Regions from separate parts of the Homo sapiens genome. Here region 2 is linked to region 1. The links are contacts of gene promoters, found by promoter capture Hi-C in blood cells and fetal thymus (Javierre and others, 2016). All regions are on one chromosome and are shown on one strand. The core of a region is centred on a gene start or on the middle of the fragment in contact, and the rest is flanking DNA. Distances in the headings are between cores, read along the strand shown. Region 1 holds the start of FAM3A (FAM3 metabolism regulating signaling molecule A). Region 2 overlaps ARHGAP4 (Rho GTPase activating protein 4).

The links. The method cuts DNA at HindIII sites, captures the fragments that hold promoters and counts their contacts. A CHiCAGO score of 5 or more calls a contact.
Region 2: a contact is called between a fragment that was not itself captured here and the fragment with the promoter of FAM3A in region 1, in 1 of 17 cell types (total CD4 T cells). The highest score is 6.3, in total CD4 T cells.

Annotation. Positions count from the first base shown.
Region 1 is chrX:154,514,031-154,517,824 of GRCh38, forward strand. FAM3A (FAM3 metabolism regulating signaling molecule A) reads right to left here and starts at 2,202. Exons shown (of 9, transcript NM_021806.4): 1 at 1,730-2,202. The coding sequence starts at 1,742. LOC124905229 (a long non-coding RNA gene) reads left to right here and starts at 1,450. Exons shown (of 2, transcript XR_007068357.1): 1 at 1,450-1,685. RefSeq lists enhancers at 1,470-2,093, 2,094-2,716 and silencers at 2,067-2,476, 2,692-2,848. The HindIII fragment of the contact is 19,151 bases long and covers 1-3,794 here.
Region 2 is chrX:153,922,017-153,925,890 of GRCh38, forward strand. All of the region lies in intron 1 of ARHGAP4 (Rho GTPase activating protein 4), which reads right to left. Among named protein-coding and RNA genes, the nearest start is that of ARHGAP4, 2.3 kb to the right of the region's middle. RefSeq lists enhancers at 1,408-1,908, 2,415-2,544. The HindIII fragment of the contact is 3,334 bases long and covers 1-2,926 here.

The DNA.
Region 1 (3,794 bases), core at 952-3,451:
CTTCCTTGACCTCTCAGTGGGCTGCCCATGTCCACCTGACAGAAGCACTAACTTCTCTGCTGGCTTTCCGGACAGCACACTCTCCTGACCCAATCTCTCTGGACACTCCTCATTCTCCTTAGTTAGATCGTCTCCTCTACCCTCCCCTTAAAAGCTGGACTTTCCCAGGCTCCCATCTCAGGCTGCCTTCTGGTCCCTACCTGTAGTGTCTTTTTATTTTTTTTATTTTTGAGACGGAGTCTTGCTCTTGCCCCCCAGGCTGGAGTGCAATGGCGCGATGTCGGCTCACTGCAACCTCCGCCTCCTGGGTTCAAGCGATTCTCCTGCCTCAGCCTCCCAAGTAGCTGGGATTACAGGCGCGCACCACCGTGCCTGGCTAATTTTTTTTTTTGAGACAGAGTCTTGCTCTGTTGCCCAGACTGAAGTGCAGTGGCGTGATCTTGGCTCACTGCAAGCTCCGCCTCCCGGTTACACGCCATTCTCCTGCCTCAGCCTCCCTGGTAGCTGGGACTACAGGCGCCCGCCACCACGCCCGGCTAATTTTTTTGTATTTTTAGTAAAGACGGGGTTTCACCATGTTAGCCAGGATGGTCTTGATCTCCAGACCTCGTGATCCGCCCGCCTCGGCCTCCCAAAGTGCTGGGATTACAGGTGTGAGCCACCGCACCCGGCCATGCCTGGCTAATTTTTGTATTTTTAGTAGAGACGGGGTTTCACCATCTTGGCCAGACTGGTCTCGAACTCTTGACCTCAGGTGATCCACCCGCCTTGGCCTCCCAAAGTGTTGAGATTACAGGCGTGAGCCACTGCGCCCAGCTGTCTTTACTTTTTTGAGACGGAGTCTCGCTCTGTCGCCCAGGCTGGAGTTATGCGGTGGCGCAATCTCGGCTCACTGCAACCTCAGCCTCCCGGGTAGCTGGGATTACAGGCACCCGCCACCACGCCAGGCTCATTTTTTTGTATTTTTTTAGTAGAGATGAGGATTCACCATGTTGGCCAGGCTGGTCTCGAACTCCTGACTTCAAGTGATCCTCCCACCTCGGCCTCCCAAAGTGCTAGGATTACAGGCGTGAGCCACCGCGCCCGGCCTGTAGTGTGTTTTTAGATGATGTCATCTACTCCTAGCTCTTTAATTAAGCACCATGTGTCAATGACTTTCTATTTTCTAGTTCCAGCCGTGGCCTCTCTTGAAACCACTCCCTGCCAGCTGGTTCCTCAGTGGCCAGCTCCACCTGGATATGTCCACAAAGTTACCACCTTAGCAAGTCTGAAGTCCAATTCCCGAGTTGTTTCTACTCTCCACCCAGCCCCAACCTATCCCTCCCCAAGGATCTTCATCTTACTTGTCCAGGTGACAGTAGGGCTGTCATCGGGTTCATGTCGAAGCCCACAGCCACTTTTGTCACTTCCCCTCTAAGACCACGCCTCTCCACCTGGACTGCCCACCTCCTCTCTCTCACCACTCATTTTCCAAAAAGCAGCTGGTCTGCTACCTGCGTTGGGAGATACTGACTATACTAATCCTCATGTCATAGCTCGGGGAGCTGACGTCCTCAGAGGTGAAAGGATTTGGTTAAGGTCAAGGAACGAGTGTTTGTGCAGAGTCCTCCATTTCCAAAACCAAACCCAGTGGTTCACCCGGGCCTCTCCAGACACAGATGTCGCGACGCTGGGCCTCCAGCCAGGTGCCCTTTTCAACTCCCTCCCGTTCGCTGTGGAAGCCACCCACCTGCCAACCTCATGTCCACTTCTCCTGCTGGGTTGGGACCGCCGGCAAGTGCACTGTTTGGGGGCAAAGCGGAAGGACAGGTTTGGGTGGGGGTCAGGGGCAAGCCTGTGCGGGACCCCTGCTGGGGGCGGGCGCGATCGGTGCTACGACCTGTTTGTCCAGCCGCCCGGCCAGGCAGGGCTCCTCGGAAACGCGCGGGGAAACCCTGCCTGGCCAGGAGGGGCCTCAGGAACCCGTTGGCTCACGATCTTGCCCACAGGAGCCTCCGGGGCTGGGACGAAGATGTGGTTCTCCTGGGCTCGGGCCGTTCCTCCGGGCCTGGGGGCTGGCGATGCGGGCCGGGCCGGAGATTTCTCTGGCCGTGGGGAGACGTGGGCTCGGTCAGGGAGGTTCCCTGTCAGGCCCGCCGACCCGCTCCGCCCCGGGAGAGGACGCAAGGCCGCTGCGCAGGGTGGCCAGGCAGGCCCGGCAATGGCGGCTAAGGGCGGGGCCACAGCCCGCCGGCCCCGCCCCCGGCAGCAGCTGCGCCGTCTGGCTCCACGCAGGCCCCGCCTCCAGACCCGCCTCTACCGCTCGCGCTGGCCGCCGCATGGGAGGGGCCTGAACCTGTCCCGCCCCGAACCTGTCCCGCCCCTGGATCCCTCGTCGGCCCCACCTCCGCAGTGCGTTCAGGCTGAACCCACCGGCCGCCGAGTGGGAGGGGCCCACGTCGGTCCCGCCCCGGAAGTCTCCCCTCGGCCCTTTCTCGGGTGGGAGAGCCCTGCCTACCCAGGCTTAGAGGGCTGGGGCTGCGCTTGCACCCTGAGGTCAGATTTGTGAGTCGTGGGAAGACGCAGATGGATCTGGGGCAGAATTAGAACCTGTTCCAAAGTTGATCCATGCGCTTTGTAAAGGCAAGGGAGGTACAGAGGCGCAGATAGGGAAGACCGCAGGATCCAGCGTGAGCCTCTGGCTGCCTTTCCTTAGGGTCTGTTTTCTGTCCAGAAGCGCGTTCCTGCTGTCTCTCGTTATCACTTTTATAATGGGACGGGGCGTCTCAAACTATTTCGACATCCTTGAAAACTCTTGCCTGCTCCGCCTGCCTGGTCTCTAACACCCTCCTCCTCAGAGCTGCTCAAGCTGTGTTGTTTACGCCACACCCCACCCTAAAAGCAGAGGAGAATACAACTTTCGGGGGCAGTGGAGGGGGGAGTTTAGCGCTATAACCCGAGGCTTTCACAGCAAACCAGAATTTATTTTGAGGCCTCTCAGGTTCAGCTTTCAAGTCACGTGACTTTCGCGTCCTACACAACTCTTATTTTCACTTGAAAACAAGTGTGACGTCGTGAATTCCCTAACAATAGGAAAAAAGAAGGCTCCAGAAAGAGCGGTGCTTGGCTTTCCCAGCGGCTCCAAATGGTGCCCGGCACCCAGCTGGCTGTATGGACCTGGGGTGGTCTCCGGCCGCAGGCAGACGCGGCCCTTCGGCCTTTCTCCAGTCACCCCAATTCTCCCTGACTGCCTGGCTATCTCCCCTCCGCGCCTGCCCGCACGCTGCCCCCAACACTGCCCGGGCTCCCTCTGCCCATGAGAACACGGGTCAAGCTCCCGTCCCTTCTGCCCTGCCGGCTGCCCCAAGTGCGCCCTGACCACCTACTGCGCTGGCATGGCCGGGGCCACCCTGACAGCTGATCCATCATCTGTCTGGAGAGCAGCAGCAGGGCCCAATGAGAACCACGGAAACCTCCCTGCCCTTTGACCCAACTTACGGGAATCTCCTACCCTTAGGGAAACAATGCAAAATATAGAGAAAGTTTATAGAGCCGGGCATGGGAGAGCCCTGGTTAGAATCCAGCAGCTTCTATACTGGAGTACTCAACAGGGTCAAGGTCCCTTTCAGCTGCCTGCTGCTGGGGCCAGGGCTTTGCATTTGCGTTTTGTCATGGAATTTGACAGCCTCTCAAGTAATTATGGTAACGAATCTTGGGCTCCATGCCCTCCTCAGGGGGGCCCAGTCGAAGAAGCTCCAGGTTACTCACACCCTTGAGCTGCCAGCCGGTGTTTTTCAAAGACAATATTTACATGT
Region 2 (3,874 bases), core at 10-2,509, 590 kb before region 1:
CCGACCTCTGCGCTGAGGCCAACAGATGGCCAGAGCCACCCGGTTGAGGGGGAAGGGGAAGGGTGTCCCAGAGAGAGGGGAGAGCCGCCCCAGCGCCAGCCAGGCACCTTTCAGTTTGGCTTCCTGTCTCTCCCTCGTTCCTGGAAAGCCTCTGAATGGTTTCCCCTGCGACTTCCTTTCCCGCCGGTACCCAGGCTCCGGGAGGTGGCAGCCTCCCTTGCAAACACACGGATACACAACACACAGATCACAGTGCTGCTCAGGGCAAGCCTGCAGCGATCTCGCAGTCTCAGTGGCTGGGGAAGCCTGCCCTCAGGCCCCAGGGGAAAGGACAGTCCACAGTGAGGGCTGGGAGCCAGGGAGAGCTGATCCGGCCTTGTAAGTGAAAGAATGGGGCAGGGAGCTAGCCCCCGTCTTCTGACCCCACTTCCCACTCCCAATCACCCCCCGCCCCACCTGTGCATTCCCCCACCCTGCAGAGAGAGTCACACCCAGGGCCCCATACTGCCGGCCTTTTGACACCCTATCACTGGCTTGATTTGGCAACGCTGCTTCCCCCACACAGGCCTGAAGCAAAGAAGTGCCTGTCCAGCAAGTTTAAGCAACCTGCGGAAGACACTTTTGCCATCTCCTGAGTGCCCGTCCCGAGTAAATAAGATGCTAGCTCAGCTTCTGGCCAGCAGGCTGCCCACCTACTCATCTCCATCCACATCCCCAGGGAGGGACATGAATTGATGTCTTCATTCAGCAGAATGTTGATTATGCACCCATTCTGTGGCAGGCACGTTTTAAATACAAAGGCAAAGAGGTTTGACCAAGTGTCTGCCCTCTTGGAGCTGGGATTGGAATGGGGCACGAACACATATCAGAATGCCCAGGAGTGATGGGTGCGGAGAAGATGAACCCACAAAGCAAGATCAGAGCCAGGGGTGGGTGGGGACAGGGAGGACCTCTTTTTAAAGGAGGGTGGTCAAGAACAAGCCGCATCGTTGGAGCAGAAGGCTGGAGCTGGCTGTACGTGGGCAGTAGGGGGAGTCCGAGAGACCGGTAGGGACAGATGGCACAGAGCCCGGGGTCTGGGCAGAGCTCCCAGCTGGACTCCGAGTGAGAGAGGAGCCACAGTAGTGGGGTGATGTGGTCCAGCTTCGTTTTCAGGGCCCCCTCACACTGCCAGGTGGAGCCCAGGTGGCAGCTACTGTGCTAGTCCAGGCAAAAGACGGCAGGATTCAGACCAGCAGCAGCGAGGGAGGACTCCGCTGAGAAGAGCTCAATCCCATTGGATTTCTGTCCCGCCAGTGACTTCCCAGGGGCTGTTGCATGGGGACCCTGTGGGTTCCGCCTGCCCAGCATCCCTACCTCCTCCCCTGATCTCCTATTGGAGAATGTCCCCTTCCTAGTCTCAGCCCCCTTGACTCCAGGTGCCCCAGCCCTGGCTGCATGCGTCACCCATCCCTCTGTCCCTCCACTCCCTGCCCCCACCAGACTAGCCAGGTGAGGGACCCAGGAGCCTGACCCTTCCAATTGAATTACTGAACAGGAGAGCTCTTCCCACCGGCAGATCAAGCTGGGTAAGTGGAAGCCTGGGGCACGGGACCTCCCGACAGAGCAGGGCAGAGCCCACGATGCCAAGTGAGACAGATGGAGAGTGTCTTCATCCTATCCGAGGCTGGCCTCCTGTGGTTAACTCGTCAGCTCCAAGGCCAGGTGGGGTGGGCGCTAATGCCATTTGAAATCAGGAGAGTCCTCACTGAATCAGTTTAACGTTTTGTTTTGATTTTTTGTTTTGAGACGGAGGATGTTGCCCAGGCTGGAGTACAGTGGTGCGATCTCGGCTCACTGCAACCTCCGCCTCCCGGGTTCAAGCGATTCTCCCGCCTCAGCCTCCCGAGTAGCTGGGACTACAGGGGCGCACCACCACACCCAGCTAATTTTTGTATTTTTAGTAGAGACAGGGTTTCATCATGTTGGCCAGACTGGGTCTTGAACTCCTGACCTCAGGTGATCCGCCCGCCTCGGCCTCCCAAAGTGCTGGGATTACAGACGTGAGCCACCACGCCTGGCCCAGTTTAACATTTTTTGATAAAAGTAAATTTCATTTCATTCCAAGAAAGGTGTTAGACAACTGCTCGCCTCACTGGCCCTCTGGAGCCTGCCCTGCCCTGCTTCCCCCAGAGGAATACAATCCCTGGGGACTTATGACAACTGAACAGTGCAGAAGGAACCAGCAGAGGGAACCGCTGCCTTTCTTCATCACTGCCGGCAGCAAAAGCTGACTGGAAGCCATGTCCTAGTCCAGATCCGGGCATGCACACCGGCTGGTGTTGAGCAGGCAACTTGTGAATTGCAAGTCGATTGCATTGGTGGCTTTCCTGGCAGAGCTTTCGGATCTCAGTTCAGACAAACTCGTCAGCACACCCTGTCCTGACCTCCCCCTAAACTAGGGCTGGCCCTCTTCCGACCCCTTCTTGGCACCGTGCACTTTCCTTCCCTTTGTAGTGCTTATTATCATAATGCAAAGTCTATGTCTCCCCCACTAGACCCGTGAGCCATGTGAGGGCGGGGTGGCCACTGACGCCATTTGAAATCAGGGGAGTCCTCATTGAATCATTGCTTTTACTCTGGGTAAAAAGCCAGGGCTGGAGGGGCTGGAGTCGGGGTTCTCTCTGGTACAGCAGTATACTCCCAGGGCCTGGGACAGCACAGATGTATAGGAAACATCTGGCAAAAGGAGAGCTGGAATCCATGTCTGCCTGAATTACAGAGCTGGGCCCCGGGCCCCACCAGCACTTCCTGTGAGCAAGGCATTTGGTCTCACTTCTGCTGACAAGCAAAACAGAAGAAAAGATGGTCTCCAAAACCACCGCTATGCTGACCTTTGAGAATTTAGGGTGTCAAGACAGTGACCCCACTTTGTAGAATGGTAGGAAGCTTTTCCAGGGTGTGGGATGCAGACCCAGAGCAAGTGAGGAACCCTTAGACAGTCGTGCTCGAAACCCCAACTTTTCAGTGTGAAATCACTGACCCATATTTGCTGACTGAAGTTTTCCAAGTCTTTCAGCTTCATGGCATTTTGGGGAAGCAGGATGGAGATCATTACCTCCATCTGAGCAAGATGATGGCGAGGCTTGGAAAGCTGGCTCACCCTGTGTAGTCACCTCAAGCTGGCTCTGGACACAGGCTGCCTTTTCCAAAGGAGGACTGGAGCATACTTTGGTATAAATTGCTTGCACTGAATAATGATGTTAGAACCTACATCTCTGGGTTCAAAGGCACTTCAAGGGTCATTGCATTCTACGTCCTAGAAGTTGCAGTGCTGTATGACCACGGGCAAGTCACTGCACCTCTCTGAGCTTGTTTCCGTAATTGGTAAAATGGAGTGATTGAGAGTGATATGGACGAGCTGCTGGCACTGAGCTGCTGCCTCTTTCCTTTGCAAGAGTTACCATGCCCTGAATAAGATGGGCACAAGCTATTGGCTAAGAATTTGCAAAGCTGATTTGCATGTGATTTGCACATGGGTGTTTATCAGAACCCAGAGGTTCAATTTCAGAAGGCTGAGAAGCCAGCCCTGTTAAATCTCTCAACCAAGACTCACTGCGCCAGCTTGACCCAGAGACAGTGGCCCTCGCCTCTGCTCCCCCTCAGTGCTAAAGGGAGGCAAAAGGTGCTGAAGCTCCAGGGACTGCAGTGGGGTTACGGCCAGGTGATCTCCACCAATCCACTCACCCGGACTCCCTTACTCACCCCCCAGCCCAATCAAGCTGGTTGACTTCACTGTAGCTAAAATACTGCCTTCTGAGGGGCACGTTGGTGCATCTGGCTCTCTTTTACCAGCGGCCACCAGTGTCTCCACTGAACCTTGGGTGAGAAGCGG